2 separate regions of the Homo sapiens genome follow, and region 1 is linked to region 2. Evidence: promoter capture Hi-C in 16 types of primary human blood cells and fetal thymus (Javierre and others, 2016). All regions are on one chromosome and are shown on one strand. Each heading gives the region's core, a stretch centred on a gene start or on the middle of the fragment in contact. The rest is flanking DNA. Distances are from core to core; before and after follow the strand shown. Region 1 overlaps MOB3B (MOB kinase activator 3B). Region 2 holds the start of MOB3B (MOB kinase activator 3B).

Region 1 (6,370 bases), core at 2,464-4,963, 110 kb after region 2:
CACTTACTGAGGACACAGCAGAGAACAATAAAGACTAAATCCTCACTCTCATTGAACTTATATCTGCATTGAGAGTGGGGAGGAGAGGCAGGCCATAATCAGATATAGATGTCAGGTGGTGATAAGTGCTATGAAGAAAAGCAGCTAGAGAGTGATGGGTGCTATTTTATACAGTAGGGGCAGAAAAGAAAGCTACTGGAGCCACACCTGAATGACATAAGAAGCAAACCCTCCGACATCTGGAGAAAGCACATTCCAAGCTGAGGGAAGAGTGAATACCAAGGTTCTGGGGTGGAACCACATTTGGAATGTGTGAGGACTAGCAAGGAGGCCAGTGCAGCTGGAGTGTGGAAATGGAGGAAGTTGGAGGTAGACAAATTATGTGAGGCCACAGTAAGGTTTTGGGACTTTATTCTGAGGATGACGAGAAACCAGTTGAGGATTTTCAGCAGAAATGTGAAGTAACCCCCGCCCCCCGGCCTGGTGTTTTAAAAGAACTACTCTGGCTGCTTTGTAGAGAACTGCGTGGTTTGAAAGGAGCACCCAAGGTGAGCAAAAAGACCTGCACTTTATGCTACTCTCACTTAACTCACTCTAGGGCTGTGTGCCTCAATTCTTTGCCTATAAAATGGAGGTGAGAGTGGCCGGGCATGTTGGCTCACGCCTGTAATCCCAGCAATTTGGGAGGCCGAGGCAGGCAGATCACCTGAGGTCAGGAGTTTGAGACCAGCCTGACCAATATGATGAAACCCCCATCTCCACTAAAAATACAAAAATTAGCCGGGCGTGGTGGCATGTGCCTGTAATCCCAGCTACTTGGGCGGCTGAGACAGGAGAGTCGCTTGAACCCGGGAGGCGGAGGTTTCAGTGAGCTGAGTTTGCACCATTGCACTCCAGCCTGGGCAACAAGAGCGAAACTCCGTCTGAAAAAAAAAAATGGAGGTGAGAATACCGCTCTTCCATGTAGGGAGAAGGTGGGTGCAAGGTTACCCCTCATGGATGGTAAAGGCCTCCCAATACAGATGTGATCATTGCTGTTGTCAAGCTCTGGGTCAGTGGAAGATGTTACTGACCTTTCTATTTTCTTTTTTTCCATAAGTTATTGAGGTATAGGTGGTATTTGGTTACATGAGTAAGTTCTTTAGTGGTGATTTGTGAGATTTTGCTGCACCCATTACCTGGGCAGTATACACTGCACCATATTTGAAGTCTTTTATCCCTTGTCCCCCTCCCACTCTTCCCCCCAGGTCCCTGAAGTCCGTTGTATCATTCTTATGCCTTTGCATCCTCATAGCTTAGCTCCCACATATCAGTGAGACCATATGACCTTTGGTTTTCCATTCCTGAGTTACTTCACTTAGAATAATAGTCTCCAATCTCATCCGGGTCACTGCAAATGCTGTTAATTCATTCCTTTTTATGGCTGTGTAGTATTCCATATATATATATATATATATATATATATATATATATATATATATATATGGAATATACAGATGGAATATATAGATGGAATATAGATGGAATATATAGATGGAATATATATGAAATATATAGATGGAATATGTAGATGGAATATATATATATAATCATAGTTTCTTTATCCACTCGTTGATCGATGGACAATTGGGTTAGTTCCACAATTTTGCAATTGTGAATTGTGCTGCTATAAACATGTGTGTGCAAATATCTTTTTCGAATAATGACTTCTTTTCCCCTGGGTAGATACCCAGTAGTGAGATTGCTGGATCAAATGGTAGTTCTACTTTTAGTTCTTTAAGGAATCTCCACACTGTTTTCCATAGTGCCTGTACTAGTTTACATTCCCACCAGCAGTGTAGAAGGGTTCCCTGATCACTGCATCCATGCCAAAATCTACTCTTTTTTGATTTTTTTATTATGGCCATTCTTGCAGGAGTAAGGTGGTATTGCATTGTGGTTTTGATTTGCATTTCCCTGATCATTAGTGATGTTGAACATTTTTTTTCATGTTTGTTGGCCATTTGTGTATCTTCTTTTGAGAATTGTCTATTCATGTGCTTAGCCCACTTTTTCAAGGGATTGTTTGTTTTTTTCTTACTAATTTGTTTGAGTTTGTTGTAGATTCTGGATATTGGTCTTTTGTCAGATGTATAGATTGTGAAGATTTTCTCCCACTCTGTGGGTTTTCTATTTACTCTGCTGACTGTTCCTTTTTTCGTGCAAAAGCTCTTTAGTTTAATTAGGTCTCAGCTATTTGTCTTTGTTTTTATTGCATTTGCTTTTGGGTTCTTGGTCATGAAATCTTGCCTAAGCCAATGGCTAGAAGGCTTTTTCCAATGTTATCTTCTAGAATTTTTATAGTTTCAGGTCTTAGGTTTAAGTCTTTAATCCGTCTTAAGTTGATTTTTGTATAAGGCGAGAGATGAGGATCCAGTTTCATTCTCCTACTTGTGGCTAGCCAATTATCCCAGCACCATTTGTTGAAAAGGGTGTCCTTTCCCCACTTTATGTTTCTGTTTGCTTTGTTGAAGATCGGTTGGCTGTAAGTATTTGGGTTCATTTCTGGTTCTCTATTCTGTTCCATTGGTGTATGTGCCTATTTTTATACCAGTACCACACTGTTTTGGTGACTATGCCCTTATGGTATAGTTTAAAATCAGGTAGTGTGATGCCTCCAGATTTGTTCTTTTGCTTAGTCTTGCCCTGGCTATGTGAGCTCTTATTTTGGTTCATATGAATTTTAGAATTGTTTTTTCTAATTATGTGAAGAATGATGGTGGTATCTTGATGGGAATTGCATTGAATTTGTAGATTTCCTTTGTCAGTGTGTTCATTTTCACAATGTTGATTCTACCCATCCATGAGCATGGGATGAGTTTCCATATGTTTGTGTCATCTATGATTTCTTTCAGCAGGGTTTTGTAGTTTTCCTTGTAGAGGTCTTTCGACTCCTTGGTTAGGTATGTTACTAAGTCTTTTTTTTTTTTTTTTGCAGCTATCGTAAAAGGGGTTGAGTTCTTGATTTGATTCCCCGCTTGGTCGCAGTTGGTGTATAGAAGAGCTACTGATTTGTGTACATTAATCTTGTATCCAGAAATGTTGCTGAATTTTTTTTTATCAGTTCTAGGAGCTTTCTGGAGGAGTCCTTAGGGTTTTCAAGGTAAACGATCACATTGTCAGCAAACAGTGACAGTTTGACTTCTTCTTTACCGATTTGGATGGCCTTTATTTCTTTCTCTTGTCTGAAGAGGAGTGGTGAGAGTGGGCATTCTTGTCTTGTTCCAGTTCTCAGAGGGAATGTTTTCAACTTTTCCCCATTCAGTATTATGTTGGCTGTGGATTTGTCATAGATGGCTTTTATTACATTAAGATATATCCCTTGTATGCTGATTTTTCTGAGAGTTTTAATCATAAAGAGATGCTGGATTTTGTCAAATGCTTTTTCTGCATCTATTGAGATGATCATATGATTTTTGTTTTTAATTCTGTTTATGTGTATCACATTTATTGGCTTGCATATGTTAAACCATCCCTGTATCTCTGGTATGAAACCCACTTGATCGTGGTGGATTATCTTCTTGATATGTTGTTGGATTTGGTTAGCTAGTATTTTTTTTAAGGATTTTAGCATCTATGTTCATCAGGGATATTGGTCTGTAGTTTTCTTTTTTGGTTATATTTTTTCCTGGTTTTGGTATTAGGGTGATGCTGGCTTCATAGAGTGAATTAGGGAGGGTACCTTCTTTATCTTGCAAAATAGTGTCAAAAGGATTTGTACCAATTCTTCTTTGAATGTCTGGTAGAATTCTGCTGTGAATCTGTCTGGTCCTGGACATTTGTTTTGATAATTTTTAAGTTACCATTTCAATCTCGCTGCTTGTTTTTGGTCTATTGAGGGTTTCTAATTCTTCCTGATTTAAGCTAAGAGGGTTGTATTACTTTTTTTTTTTTTTTTTTTTTGAGGTGGAGTCTCACCCTGTCTCCCAGGCTGGAGTGCAATGGTGTGATCTCAGCTCACTGCAACCTCCGCCTCCCAGGTTCAAGCTATTCTCCTGCCTCAGCCTCCCAAGTAGCTGGGACCACAGGCGTGTGCCACCACACCCAGCTAATTTTTGAATTTTTAGTACACCAAGTTGTACTAAGTGTACACCAAGTTGTACTAAGGGTTTCACCAAGTTGGCCAGGATGGTCTCGATCTCTTGGCCTTGTGATCCACCGGCCCCGACCTCCCAAAGTGCTGGGATTACAGGCGTGAGCCACCGCACCCGGCCAAAGGGTTGTGTTTCTATTTTCTAACCCCAGAGGGTTGGTGTAAAGATCACATGAGCTCATGTATGTAAAGTACTTGTGAGTCCTCAATAAACGGTGGTTTTTTTCACCATCCCTTTGCTGCTAGAGTCCAAAGTACTAGCATTTTTGTTTTTCTTTTCCCTTGGGGATTCTCAGCAGAAGCTGAGAGGCTTAGAAAGTGTTTTTTTAAATCCCAAGGAAGAGAATTGTTGATTCCTGGAGCTGGGCACAGGGAGGCTGTGAGCAGAGGAGCTGTAATAAGATCACTCAAAGGAAACTTTATTGTTCCATTTAAAGCACAGGGTGTCTCTCTTTTTCTTTCCCTCTCATGTATGCATTTCAGGCATTTGACGTTTTGTTTGTTTGTTTGTTTGTTTGTTTTGTTTCCTTTTGTTTTTGAGACGGAGTCTCGCTCTGTCGCCCAAGCTGGAGTACAGTGACGCAATCTCGGCTCACTGCAAGCTCCGCCTCCCAGGTTCACACCATTCTCCTGCCTCAGCCTCCCGAGTTGCTGGGACTACAGGTGCCCGCCACCACGCCTGGCTAATTTTTTGTATTTTTTAGTAGAGACGGGGTTTCACGGTGTTATCCAGGATGGTCTCGATCTCCTCACCTCGTGATCCACCTGCCTCGGCCTCCCAAAGTGCTGGGATTACAGGCGTGAGCCACTGCACCCTGCCGGCATTTGAGTTTTAAAAGTAATACATCCTGTATCTTCATGGTAATAATTTAAGCAATCCCAGGTGTCTAAAATCCCAATAACATTGTTTCTTTCTCCCCTTCAATCGCACACCAGTTCTAAACTCCAGATGTAACTAACGGTAACAGGTGTCCCCTGCTTATTCTAGTAGTCATAAGCACATTTACAGACGTGGAGTGGTGGCTATCTTTTGTTCTGTTTTACGAAGAAAAGCAAAGGAAAGATGAGCTAGCCGTGGTGGCTCATGCCGGTAATCCCAGCTTTTCAGGAGGCTGAGGCAGGAGGATTACTTAAAGCCAGACGTTTAAGACCAGCCTGGGCAACATAGCAAGATCCTGCCTCTACAAAAAAAACTTAAAAATTGGCTGGGCATGGTGGTACATCATGCCTGTAGTCCTAGCTACTTGGGAGGGTGAGGCAGGAGGATCACTTGAGCCCAGGAGGTCAAGGCATTCCACTCCAGACTAGATGACAGAGCAAGACCCTATCTCAAAAAAAAAAAAAAAAAAAAAAAAAATTAAAAAGAAATTACTCCAGGGGTTCCACAGAACCTCCAAATGATATCTAAAGTCTTTAAGAATGTGTTTTATAGGTAGAATATCTATAGCTTTTTCAGGTTGTCAAAGGAATCTAGCAGCCCACCCCTCCATCAAATTAAGCACCAGCCATTTTAAACTTCCTAAAAATCCCAAACGTGGAGATTAGACCAGATTCTCTGAAGTCCCTCTACTATTGCCATTTCAAAGAAAAGCTCTTTTTTCCCTGATATGCCACTTACTAGATTTCTCTTGTTAACTGATCCTTAAGCATACCTATACTTAAGGTATGAGGTCCTACGAGATCATGAAGGGAAATCTTTATGCTTAACTGCAATAGCCAAACCTTTTCCATGAGTTTATTAAACTGTAGTTATTCAGAATTCAATAATACTTGTATATGCTGCAAAATCATTTTATCAATCAGGAAATTGTATTAACCCCAAATACATTTTTTATCATGCAATGAGAGGACAAAAACATATTGCAAGCCCAGATACCAACAAAGTTTGAATGTTTTTCCTTTTAGGATTACCTACAGATAATCCAGGGGTGAAAGCATGTGAAAAGCAAATCTAATCATATGTCTGTGTGAACTAACTAAATAAATACACGCACGAAACCCCATATTGAAATCTATATGAGTGATAAAATCCACTCGTATTGCAGTTTAGAACCAGATGTGATGAAATTTTATTTTCCTCAGCAACAGCTCTTCAGTTAAGGGGACACTTACACATCTGCTTGGTCATCCCCAGAGGATGCAGTTGTTTTTAGATCTAAAGCCAAATCCATTGAAATTAGCTAGGACCTTTTCCATTTGGAAGTGAGAAATGAGGATTTTTCTCACACAGTTAGCTGA
Region 2 (6,900 bases), core at 1,676-4,175:
ACAGTGAGAGAACTCCTCTCCATTACTCAGAATACTGAGGCAGATCACAAGTGTACCACACCTGGCTAATGTTAAGCCAGACAGAAACATCAGGCTCATCTCTTGAGAAGAAGGGTCGCTTATTAAGGATACAAACTATTTTTTTTTTTTTTTTTTGAGACAGGGTCTCATTGCCCAGGTTAGAGTGCAGTGGTGCAATCATAGCTCACTGCAGCCTCAACCACATGGGTATTTTTAAATAAGAAAAAAATACCATCTGATAGATATGAAGGAGCATTGGGTCACTATAAACAAAACAGATTCTAAGAGCAGGAAGAAAGAGTACAGTCTCTTTTCAATAATTTTTTTTTAAACTTGGGAAAGAACACTCACTCTATTCCTATAGACCAGAAAGCAGATAATTGTCCATTATGATTCCACATGACACTATCTTGTTCAGCTGTCACTGAAACAACTTTGAACACTGTCATATGTTCTTCCCAGCTCCTGAACTCTGACCTTTTTATGCCTTAGTTCCACTTTCACAAAAAGGGATTGATGTAATGTGCATTTCAGAGGAAACGACTATAGACATTTAGTGTCATTATAAATGTTGAGAAGTATGCTGGCAGAAATTATGCCTTAAGATCATATATGGATTCTTGTATGGTTTGAAATTGCTTAAAAGATATATATGATCTCTAAAATGTGTGTGTATATATATATGATGTCTTCTTATATATCTATATGTGATATATTTATATATATATAAATCTGTGTATATCACATATATAAATTTGCTGTTATTTGAATTGCCATTACCTCAGTGCTTAGGGGAAGCCATGCACGTTTGTTTCTTTTCAGTACCCAGAGTTAATTAACATAAGTTATCACAGAAGCTCCCATAAGCATTGAGACAATTTCTCTATACCTGTGACTATTTAAGGTTTTGAAAACAAAACAGAAGCAGGTAAGGAGGAAGTACGCTTTACTATTGAAGATTTATTAGGTACACATTTAGATTTGTGAACTCACATTGCTTAGGATGAAAGGGACTCTTGAGGATGTCTGCTGTTTGTTAGTGAACTGCCTGTAACAATTACAATTAGCACACACATGAGCACAATGAACTGGGTAGTCAGACTCAGCCAAAATGAATAGAAATAGCCTCTTACCAAATTTACTTTGAGTAGCCCTTGGACTCTGAGCACTGCTGCCCAGAGCAATATGACTGTAGGTCCAAGTTTGTCAATGACTATGCAAATGTGCTTTCTTCGCTTTTACTCTATTGTCATCTGTCTATTACAATGTTGCTATGGTGACACCTTTCCAATATCCCTGTGCTTCTTTGGTATCCTCTAAGGGGAAGCTGTAATGAAGTGGCTTGGCAAAAGAATCCTCTTGGAATTTTTTTTTTTTCATATGCTACTGAAAACCAGCATGATTTTCCTCTTATGGGAAATGTATAAAGTATGAGTTGGAAATGATGGAAATTAATCTGTACTGACTTGGGCAAGGAATGTGAATGTTATTCATTCTGTTCCAAACTACCTGAAAATATTCTCTTTCTGTTCCTACTTTCCAGGAGATAACATCTTAAGGGACACTGAAGCTTGTGCGTGTGTGAGTAGAACACGTGCTGGGGGCTCTTGAGCTCATGAGGGAGGGGCTACATGTCGGTGGGGTGATAACTGTATGCTGGAAACAATGATAGGTGGTGACCCTGGAGCACTTACCATGTGACAGGTGTTATGCTAAGCATGTTGTATGCATTCCTTCATTGAATGACAGCTACCTATATTATCCTCATTTTATAAGATGAGGTAACAGAGCTTCAGAAAGGTTAGACTCAGCTGCTATGGGTCTGTCTGACTCTGGTGTTCTTCCTCTTAAAAACTGGGGCACTTTGGAAATGAGATTCCTCGGTGATGAACAGAAATATTGCTTAGCGGCTGTATTTTTGTATCTGGCAGTTTTCCCATATTTGAGTCTTATATTCACAATCGGTATCTTTACATTACACAAAAGTGACACAGAATTAGAGTCATTTAATCCAGGGTTGATATCATTAAGTCATGACTATTTATTAAATGTTTCTTACAATATCTGAGATGATATTGCAAAAGATGTAAGTGATTTTAGAAGTTCTCACTTCGTAGTTAGTTGCAGAAACCTCTTTTGGAGGAGGGATGTTTTCTCTATATATCCTAATTTCTACTTAATATATTTCCACACCTCTTTGAAGTGTGTAGTAAGAATGGTAAAATGCAGTACTTCGTCATTTGGTACAGTTCAATCAATATGCATTAAGATGTGATCATATGGGTAATAGAAAAATGTGAAAGATCCAATTCTTTTTCTCCAGAAGGCAGGAAGCTCATATTTGATTTCTGTTACTATAAACTATAAAAACGTTTCAAATGTAGTTTACCCGTAACCATCACCCTGCAAGGGTGATATTGCTCCCCGCCAATTTACGGAGGAGAATACTGAGGCTTTAAGGTTGTAGATAGACCAAGACCACACAAGTAGAGAGTGGCGGGCTGTGGGTTGAGCTTTAAAATCCAGGTTCATCCATGACTCCCAGTGTGTTCTAGTAAATCCACTAGAATCTGAGTATTTTCCAATGATTTATGCTCCGCTCTGTGTCAGGCAGTTCATGGTATTTTTCAACAATCAGAAAATCCTGGGGAAGGCAAACTGTTTCCCCCTCTCTAGGTGCCTTGGAAGTGGCCGTTGTGGACCCAGAGATCATCCTTTCTGATCTGACACCTTCTTCACTGCCCTGGCCCAGTGTCTTTTCTGCAAGGCTGGAAGCCCCCTTAGACTGGTCATGTCCCATCTCTTTCCGGAGGGAAGATGATCCCAAAGACGACTTTTCTCTCCACGGTGCTGCCATACCGCAGGCGGCCGCCAGGGGTCCCCGCTCGGCGTCCCCGCGAGACAGTCGAGCCCCGGCCGGCTGCGCGGCGCGCTGGGTGCATGAGGGGGCTGCTCCGGAGCGACGGCGGCTGCAGCTGGAGCCAGGCGCTCGCCCGTCCGCCGGTTGGCTCGCCGGGACCTCGCGCACCGGCGGCAGAGTCCCTTGCGTGGATTGGCAAGCGACGCCCCACCTGCCCCGAGCTCACCATTTTCTTTCGCGCTGGCTGCAGCTGACCCGGCGAAGGGAGCCGACCGGGCCCTGGGCTGGAGGTAAAACCCCACGGTGAGTAAGAACCCGCTCCAAGCTAGGGGAGGCGGCGCAGCCCGGTGGCTGCTCGCTCCCGATCTCGCCCGGGCGGGCGGCGAGGTTTGGGGCGCACCTGGGCGCGGGTGCAAGAAGGTGCGGGAGGCGGCGGACCGGTCTTCTGCCCGCCGGCCACGGGCTTCCGGGGCTGGAGTCCTCTTCAGACCCCTGCCGGCGCCTGGGTTTCTGGCCGGCTCCTCGTGTGCACTTCCCGGCAGGAACAAGGGTCGCCCACTTTCCACCCCGGGATCTTGATTTGTCCTTGATTTGAAAAGATATAAATCAATAAGATCGTCCTTCTTTCGGGGTGCAAGACTCCGAGCCCATCCCCAGCCGCGGACGCCTGCAGGGTGCGTGTTGGGCTGTGGGTGGCGGGAAGACAAACTTTTACAAAAGTGCGCCTGGGCTGGGGGACAACGCTTGGGCGTCCTGATCCTGAGGGAGGAGTCTCGGCTTGGGGCAGCGTAGGGGAAGTCCGCACCGTCAGCCAGGTCGCCCCCGGGGCTGACGATGCCTCACGGAGGTGGGGAGCGTGTAAAGGCCGTACAAATCGCGCTTAACTTTGGGGCCAACAACTGTCAAACATCTGGAATCCCAGCCCCTCCCTTTCCCTGAACTGGGGAAGAAGGTGAAAACCCTTCAAGTTTTCTTTGATTGCCCCTTCCCACCTTCAGACCCCTGCTGGGAGGGTAAAGCGCCGACCCCTGGTGCCTGGCAAGTACCAGAGACTCTAAATCTCTCGGGATCCCCCCCCTCGCGCTCTTTCCTGACCCTCTCCCCTAACCCTCCCCACAGAGATCTCTCTACGCAGCCGACTGAGATCGTGGCGAATGGCCTTTTGTTTCTCCGCGTTTCCCCTATTGTTTGCCTTTCCAACATCTGGCGGGGCTTGGGGAGAGAAGGAAGCCCCTCTGGTCCCCCTCCCCGGCCCCCACGCCAGCTCCGGCAGGGGATCCCAGCTGGGAAAGTGGAGGAGCCCGACCCCAGCGAGGCCGCCCCACCCCGCCCTTGTGGTTAGAGGGCGGAGGGAAAGTTGTTCCTTCCCCGCCTCCGCTGCTGCCTGTGGCCCAGGGCGCATTTCTCAGATCTCAGCCCAGGCGCGCCGCAAAGGCTCAAATCCGAGAAGGTGCTGCTTTCGAGACAGTGGAAGCGCGTTCCGCCCCAATCCAGAGCGTCCAGTGGTTGGTTCCAGAGGATTTCAATCTCTAGCCAAAGGCGTTGGGGCTGGGCCGCTGCTAGGGCAGTGGGAGGGGATCGGGGCACCTTTGGTAGGCGGAAAGCTGAGATTCTGGGGTCCACAAGTTTCCAAGGGCGGGAGGGCAGGCTAGTCGCCAAAAAGAGAACGAAGATGCAAATAACGAGGAAGCCTTATGACGTTGCCTGGAAATAGTAGTGTGGTGGTTCACTCCGGAATGAACGTGGAGTTCTGGCTTTGAGTACCGCTCCAAGTTTAAATCCCAAGTCCCCTTTCTTCATTGTAGAAAAAGAGGACTCAGACGACGCAACACAGATACGGCTAGAGCACAGTTCCTGCTTCCACGTCCCAGAGAACAAGTGGCTTAGGATGGTCCCGAGTTCCCCTGTGGGTGCGCTTGTTGGGTTGCAGGCGGCCCTGTTTCCCTGCACAAGTCAGATGCTTACACATTGTGTTCATTCTTAGTGTGGATTATTGATTAAAGAACTGGGGCAAAAGCAAAGTAGCTACTCTGAGAAGTCAGGGTCCCCAGATGGTGCCCAGCGAGTTGTCTTGCCTCTGAGGGGAGGCTGACTGAGACTGTGCACCTGTTAGAACCTATGCTACCCCATAGCCTTGCAGTTGACTTGCTGTTGCCAGCTTTTCCTGTGGGATCCCCAATGAGTCCCTCTTCCAAGGAAGCTCAATTACACTTTTGATTCCTCCTCAACCCAGGGGAAGAAAGAGGCTTCTGTAGGAACATTATGATCTATGTACCCACTCAGACATTGTCAGTGGATACCAGAAGCTTGGCTCTGCACAGCTCTGAGAGTTTTCCCTTTGCGAACTCAACAGAACTTTTGAGTTTCCATTTAACATAAAAGAAGTGAGACTGCTAAGCCAGGAATGCGACACATAGAGCACTTTCTCTAGTGATTTCTGGGTATTATATCTCTTTACCTTCCCAACGGTGGAACCAGGAAAAGAAAAAAAAGCAACATCTTTGAAGTACTGCAAGGCACTTTACAAACATTTCATTATGAAAATGATCCCCAAGGAAGGATTCCTTTGAAATTTAGCAGCAGCAACCCAGAAGCAACAAAAAAGACCAAAGTTACTCAAGAAGTACCCAAAGGCATCATTAACAAAATAAAAGAGCATTTCTTGTCTTGGCCTACCCCGCTAAGGAAAACAGGGTAATTATAGTGGAAGTTAAGCTTGTACAGTTTCTTTTAGAATTAAAAATCTTCCCAAAAAAATCACTATAGGAAAAAATAGAAAATATCGAATGGTGAAAATGAATGTAAAAGGGGGAGATATCATAAACCTATTTCCTTGGAATAAATTTCGGAAGACGTGATACCTAGGTCACAGGGGCTGATGCGTTCTTTAGGATATTGAAGATTGCCATATTTCCCTGTAGAAAACATGTCCCAGTTTACTTTCCTCCCAGTAATGCACAAAGGCTCCTATACCTTACACTCCACTCACATTTTATATTGTCATTCTTTTTCTTTTCTGTCATACTGATGGGAGTATCTTGTCATCTTATTTTGCATTTAAAAATCAAGTTAGATTAAACATTTTTCACATTGTCTGTAGTATTTCTTCCTTTGTGATGATGTCAGTTTGTGCCCTTGCCTTTTTTCCAGTGGAGATGTTATCCTTTTTCTTTTGATTAGATGTGATCTTTAAAAAAGCATACTGTTCTGACTTCTACCCCTGCCACACATTCAGAAAATGTATATTAACTGAAAGCTCAGCTCGGCTTTCTCAGCCATTCTCTTTCCTCCAGGATAGCAAACACTTGGCAGGACTGCAACCATAAATGACTAAAGTAATTGACCTCATTCCAGTAAAGTTATTAGAGAGAACAGGCAAAGACTTTATTAGAGAAAGTCATGAAAAATAGCAAGTATATATTTTATGCTCAGTAGCTTGCATGTCCTAACTCCTTTACAAGCTTGTAGTACTATTTTTAATCTGGAACAACTCTGCTGATAGTTATTTTTACTAAATGGTTTGCACTAACTCATTTTATTGTCTGATCCTTCTGCTGATAGCCTGCATATACCATGATCCACAATTTGTTCTTGTTCTTTTAAACATCTCTTCTAACTTCTTGGCTGAAATTTGCCTCACTTTTATCATAAGACTTTCTTTGGCTATAACATTTGGGCCCTGCGCTTGGAATAATCTTGAATCTGAACAGTTTGGCAGCATGCTGTTAGTGGCATGAGCAGGAAATGGCTTCCAAGGGCAGAACCAGGTACATTTCAGATATATTTCACCCTTTTTTGGTGCATTTGCGTAGCCACAATCTCTGTTAATTCTTGCTTGAAGGTAGATGATTCTGAAATGGGGTAGATAGAGGTGCGAGAGGAAGAGAAAATCCATGTCAGCTAGGTGGTGAATTAATATAGATGAAGGGCCGTGCTAGAAAAGTAAATAATCTAGGTAGTCTGGCTGCAAAGTAACTTTTAAAAAGATAAAAGATATTAAAGTATTATGTATTATTGGA

What was found. Contacts are between HindIII fragments. The CHiCAGO score rates a contact against its expected background, and 5 or more counts as called.
Region 1: a contact is called between a fragment that was not itself captured here and the fragment with the promoter of MOB3B in region 2, in 5 of 17 cell types (total B cells, monocytes, naive B cells and 2 more). The highest score is 12.8, in total B cells.

What each region holds. Positions count from the first base shown.
Region 1 is chr9:27,415,664-27,422,033 of GRCh38, reverse strand. The region is part of intron 2 of MOB3B (MOB kinase activator 3B); the gene reads left to right. Among named protein-coding and RNA genes, the nearest start is that of IFNK, 110 kb to the left of the region's middle. The HindIII fragment of the contact is 8,611 bases long and covers 1-6,370 here.
Region 2 is chr9:27,525,839-27,532,738 of GRCh38, reverse strand. MOB3B (MOB kinase activator 3B) reads left to right here and starts at 2,925. Exons shown (of 4, transcript NM_024761.5): 1 at 2,925-3,184. It overlaps LOC124902107 (dapper homolog 3-like), which reads right to left and starts at 4,283. Exons shown (of 2, transcript XM_047424279.1): 1 at 4,013-4,283; 2 at 2,039-3,719. The coding sequence starts at 4,283. The coding sequence ends at 2,731. IFNK (interferon kappa) reads right to left here. Exons shown (of 2, transcript NM_020124.3): 2 at 6,241-6,732. RefSeq lists silencers at 2,878-3,177, 4,148-4,197. The HindIII fragment of the contact is 3,596 bases long and covers 1,594-5,189 here.